Regions from separate parts of the Homo sapiens genome. Here region 2 is linked to region 1. Evidence: promoter capture Hi-C in 16 types of primary human blood cells and fetal thymus (Javierre and others, 2016). All regions are on one chromosome and are shown on one strand. Each heading gives the region's core, a stretch centred on a gene start or on the middle of the fragment in contact. The rest is flanking DNA. Distances are from core to core; before and after follow the strand shown.

Region 1 (2,889 bases), core at 227-2,726:
GAAAGAGCTTTCTTGGTTTAAAGAACAGCAAAAAGTCCTGATCCAAAAAAGCTGTCCAAAGCCTAGTTGGAAGGAAGTGTATTGAGTGTCCTGAGATGATATGGGAAGTGGGGGTAGGAGGCCAAATCTTGAAGATCTAGGTTGTGGTAAAAGTGGGTTACTCTACCTGTAATGGAAAGCCACGGAAGAGTTTAAAGCAGGGTTATTGCATAATCTGAACCATATTGAAAACAAATACTGACTGGGTGCGGTGGTTCACGCCTGTAATCCCAGCACTTTGGGAGGCCGAGGTGGGTGGATCACTTGAGGTCAAGAGTTCGAGACCAGCCTGGCCAGCAAGGTGAAATACAAAAAAATACAAAAAAATTTGCCCGGCGGCTGGGCACGGTGGCTCAGCACGGTGGCTCACGCCTGTAATCCCAACACTTTGGGAGGGCGGATCACTAGGTCAGGAGTTGGAGACCATTCTGACCAACATGGTGAAACCCCATCTCTACTAAAAATACAAAAATTAGCCGGGCGTGGTGGCGCACGCCTGTAGTCCCAGTTACTTGGGAGGCTGAGGCAGGAGAATTGCTTGAACCCAGGCGGCGGAGGTTGCAGTGAACTGAGATTGTGCCACTGCACTCCAGCCTGGGCGACAGAGTGAGACTCTGTCTCAAAAACAACAACAATAACAACACTACAGGCTATTATAAGAAAAATAAATTATATTTTGGATTTTGAAAAAGGTTCAAATGCAAATACTCTACAAAAGATGGAGTAGGTTGTGTCCCCTTCTGTGAGATATATATCTCTCTCACAAAAAAAAAAATATATATGTAAATTTTTTTTGAGATGGAGTTTCTCTCTTGTTGCCCAGTCTGGAGTGCAGTGGCGCGATCTTGGCTCACTGCAACCTCCGCCTCCTGGGTTCAAGCGATTCTCCTGCCTCAGCCTCCCAAGTAGCTGGGACTACAGGCATGCACCACCATGCCCGACTAATTTTATATTTTTAGTAGAGACGGGGTTTCGCCATGTTGGCCAGGCTGTTCTCAAACTCCTGACCTCAGGTGATCCACCTGCCTCGGACTCCCAAAGTGCTGGGATTACAGGTGTGAGCCACCGCGTCCGGCCATGAGTTATAAATATTAACAATTTCTTGCTGTAAATTGAAAGCATCCTTCGCGTCTTTGCGTTTCATTACCACCCTCTGTTCTCTCAAGAGAAATTCTAACTTTATTTCAGCACTCAGTCCTGAAGTTACAGAAGTTAATAATTTTTTAAAATCCTGCAAACAATGCATGGATATCCCCGTCTTGCACACTCTTTGGGCCAGTCTAGAATTCTTCCCATCAGCATTTCGGTGATCTGGACCGCCGCCACCCACACTGCGCTCCAGGGCAGAAAAGACGCCCCATGCCCGCGCCTGGGCCGGCGGGGGGCGGAGCTTGCGTGCTGACGCATAAGAGCCGAGCGGGGGAACGTGCGTGTCTCGAGTCGCACGGAGGGCAACCGTCGACGGGCTTAGCGCCTCAACTGTCGTTGGTGTATTTTTCTGGTGTCACTTCTGTGCCTTCCTTCAAAGGTGGTGCTTTGTCCCTGTGGGTCATCTGTACTGATTGCGCCAAGCAAAGCATTTGTGAGCGTGTGGTGCTGGGGTGAAAGTGGTGGCTGGGGGCAGGGAGAAATCCAAAAGCCCGCTGGTGCCCCAGCCCTCCCATTGCCTGGTAGACTGGGCCTTGCTTTACCCTCCCCGCATCCTTTGACCAGGAAATTCTTTCTTTGGCTTCCCCCCATCCCCGGCTCCAACATTCTGCAAACTGAAGAGGTAGTTTCTTAGATGTTCAGTGTGGTTAATCCAATGAAATTGCATTATCCCTATCAGGTTCTCCAAATGTCAACTGTCAAGGAGCAGCTAATTGAGAAGCTAATTGAGGATGATGAAAACTCCCAGTGTAAAATTACTATTGTTGGAACTGGTGCCGTAGGCATGGCTTGTGCTATTAGTATCTTACTGAAGGTGAGTGAGAAGCCCATCCTGTGGCTGAAAATCAAGTGAGCACTTCAGAGTGTTGTATATGTCGATGTATTCAGGGTTGCAAGGTTAATCCCTTGAAAGCAATTATGTATCCTTTGACCTTTCCTCCCTCCCTCCCTCCCTCCCTTCCTTCCTTCCTTCCTTCCTTTTTCTTTCTCTCTTTCTTTTCCTTTTTTTTTAAACTTCTTCTTTCTTTTCCTTTCTTTTTTTTTCTGACTTTCCTTTTCTTTTTCTTTTTTTGAGACAGGATTTGTCTGTTACCCAGGTTGGAGTGCAGTGGCGCGATCTTGGCCCACTGCAACCTCCACCTCCCGGGATCAAGCGATTCTCCTGCCTCAGCCTCTTGAATAACTGGGGCCACAGGCATGCACCACCAGGCCTGGCTAATTTTTTATATTTTTAGTAGAGATGGGGTTTCTCCATGTTGGCCAGGCTGGTTTCGAACTCCTGACCTCAAGTGATCCGCCTGCCTCGGCCTCCCAGAGTACTGGGATTACAGGCATGAGCCACCACACCTGGCTGCCAATAGGTATTGTTTTTAACCCTTGTGCCCTCCTCCCTCTCTGCTTTTGGAGTCCCCAGTGTTTATTGTTCTCTCTTTTTTTTTTTTTTTTTTTTTTGAGACGGAGTCTCGCTCTGTTGCCAGGCTGGAGTGCAGCGGCAGGATCTCGGCTCCCGGCAACCTTTGCCTCCCGGGTTCAAGCAGTTCTCCTGCCTCAGCCTCCTGAGTAGCTGGGACTACAGGCATGTGCCACCACGCCCAGCTAATTTTTATATTTTTAGTAGAGACGGGGTTTCATCATGTTGGCCAGGATGGCCTTGATTTCTTGACCTCGTGATCCGCCTGCCTCAGCCTCCCAAAGTGCTGG
Region 2 (2,889 bases), core at 1-2,500, 120 kb before region 1:
ATGTGCAAGGCCCAATATTAAGCATTACAAGAGAAACAAATAAAAGTACAAGAGATGTAATTTCTACTTTTAAGAACCTTAAAATCTAATTGGGAGGCAAAGCATATTAAAAGTTTTAAATAAGACGAAGGAACATATAATTAATACATCAGTGACTATTACTCTTAAAATAATGAGTATCTAGGCCTATATATAGCAACTGTCCATATAAGCACACATCAAAAACCAATATACATAGCTATCATCAATGCCAAGTTGCTCAGTTTTTTCTAGAACTAGTATTCCTACTCCATCTTTTAGAATTAAATTCAATGAAATTAATTTTAAAATATTTGACCTTTTTTTAAAGTTACCAGTATAGCAAATACTCATTCTCTGAAGAACAGAAGATTTGACTTTTTGGAATAGCCAAAAGTCACTTAAAATCAAGTCTGGTGAAAGGAGTGATGATCTAAAACTATTTGTGGTTTAAAAAAAAAAAGTATGAATCTAAAGTAAAGTGGGTTTTTTTCCAAGTAGTTTTCTTTTTTAGTTTTTTAGAAACAGGGTCTCATTCTGTTGCCCAGGCTGGAGTGCAGTGGTGATCACTGCAACCTTGAACTCCTGGCTGTGTGTGTGTGTGTGTGTGTGTGCAGCGACGGGGTCTTCCTACGTTGCCTAGCTGCAGTGCCTGTGTGCACACATGCGCACATGCGTGTGTGGAGAGACAGGGTCTTGCTACGTTGCCTAGCTGCAATACCTGGGTGTGTGCATGTGTGTGTGTGTAGAGACAAGGTCTTGAAACGTTGTCTAGGCTGGCATGTGTGTGTGTGTTTATATGTATGTGTGTGTAGACAGGGTCTTGCTACATTGCATAGGCTGGTGTGTGTGTTTTTGTGTGTGTAGAGACGGGGTCTTGCTACGTTGCCTAAGCTGGGCAAGTATTTTTCAACTGCCTCTGAAGACAAATCCCAAATAACAGTTCCAAAAGCTGTTTCCCATAATTATCACATCATTAGAAGGGTGAGGCCTACTCACCAGGTTCTAAGAGCCAACATTCATTTTCTGATACATGCTTTTTTAAAAAAGTCATTTTTTCCCCAGTCTCATTGTTTCCCATTTGACTGTGTCAGGCAATAAGTACTTTAAAGGAATTCAGAGGAGGAGGCCATTCAGAGGTTTGGGGAAGCCTGATGACTGCGCGGGAGCTAAACCAGACATATCCACCTAAATTCAAGTAAGCAGCCATATCACTCAAATTGCCCACCATGCTTCCTCTAGCCAGCACTGGTAGTAACAACTATCACTCTGGCTGATGGAGACTCTTTTCTGCTCTTCTGTGACTGGGTATGATCACATAATAGAGACAGATACAGTAAATTTCCAATGAGTAATAATGTCACACATTTGAACTTACCTGAGGAGAAATAGCTTGTTTCTTATTTCACACAAAAGACAATCTACCTCAACTCAGAAAAAAAAAAATTATTATGCTTTTAACTGCTATATTTGAATTAAAGCAGATCTGTAACTATAGATCCATGTTTCTAGAAAGCTAAAATATCTTTAAGTAAGATGACATAAAAATGTATCTCTATTCACTTTTGGTAATGAATGAAAAGTTGCTTAAAGTCTAAAGTATTAGAAATATGGCATCTGTTATTCAAGTAGGATTTGGAATTAAGAAAATTCACTTCTTCAAAAACATGGGACTATGGCTGCAGAAAGGGCAATGCATATAGTTTTTAGGGTATGATAGCTGGTTTCTATTATATGTCAGGATGACATATGCGACCTTCCGCCAAGGTAGATACTGCGGGCTATGCACCAAAGTCTCTGAGGCAGACATGTAAGCGAGCTCTTCACCTATATTCATTCTTTTCCTCCTGGACAGGTTACATTTCCCAGTTTCCTTTGCAGTTAGTTGTGGCTATATGACAGAATTCTCATCAATGGAAATGTACACAGAAGAGAGGTAAGCCACTACCAGGCCAGGCCTATAAGACAGCACTTTCTACATGCTTTCCCCAGACATAGCAACCCAAACATGACCACATCCCTTAAGGGAAGATGGAGCTGAAAATAATGGAAGGAACTTGGAATGCTAGAATGCTGAATTACCACCTGGGAGACAGCTACCCACTGACCTGGAATACCTGTCCTGGACTGTTACATGAGCAAGAAATACACTTCTATTTATGTATGAGTTACTTCATTATCAGATATTTATTACAGCAGTTTAGCTACCTAAGATCTCTCTCTGCCTCAGACTGCTTATCTATAAAATGGAATAACACCATCTACTCCAAACATTATTGTAAGGATGAAATGAGACAATGCTGAAAAGTGTTTACCATAATATCTGCCACACAATAAGTACCCCATATAGTATTTCTGTATTAGTAAGTTACATGAGAGATTTTCTTCTTTTAATACATCTGCATTTATAAACATTTTACTTTAACCTCAACTTCCCCAGCACTGCTCTACCATTTTCTGAATGTCATTATGAGAGAAATAAAACTAATTTCTAGGGCCAGGCATGGTGGCTCACACCTATAATCCCAGCATTTTGGGAGGCCAAGGTGGGAAGACTGCTTTGAGGTCAGGATTTCAAGACCAACCTGGGCAACACAGTAAGACCCCATCTCTATAAAAAAATGAAGAAATCAGAGGGTACAGTGGCACATGCCTGTAATCCCACGACTCAGAAAACTGAGGCAGGAGGATCGCTTGAACCCAAGGGATCAAGGCTACAGTGAGCCATGATCACACCACTGCATTCCAGCCTGGGCACAGAGTGAGACCCTGTCTCTAAAAATAAAAAATAGGGCCAGGCACAGTGGTTGATGCCTGTGATCCCAACACTTTGGGAGGCCAAGGCAGGTAGATCACTTGAGGTCAGGCGTT

Evidence for each region. The method cuts DNA at HindIII sites, captures the fragments that hold promoters and counts their contacts. A CHiCAGO score of 5 or more calls a contact.
Region 2: a fragment that was not itself captured here is called in contact with the fragment with the promoter of LDHC in region 1 in 2 of 17 cell types (total CD4 T cells and activated CD4 T cells); the score reaches 5.8 in total CD4 T cells.

The regions. Positions count from the first base shown.
Region 1 is chr11:18,410,842-18,413,730 of GRCh38, forward strand. It overlaps LDHC (lactate dehydrogenase C), which reads left to right and starts at 1,477. Exons shown (of 8, transcript NM_017448.5): 1 at 1,477-1,567; 2 at 1,868-2,002. The coding sequence starts at 1,877. The HindIII fragment of the contact is 7,298 bases long and covers 1-2,889 here.
Region 2 is chr11:18,288,127-18,291,015 of GRCh38, forward strand. The region is part of intron 16 of HPS5 (HPS5 biogenesis of lysosomal organelles complex 2 subunit 2); the gene reads right to left. Among named protein-coding and RNA genes, the nearest start is that of SAA1, 23 kb to the left of the region's middle. The HindIII fragment of the contact is 4,236 bases long and covers 1-2,889 here.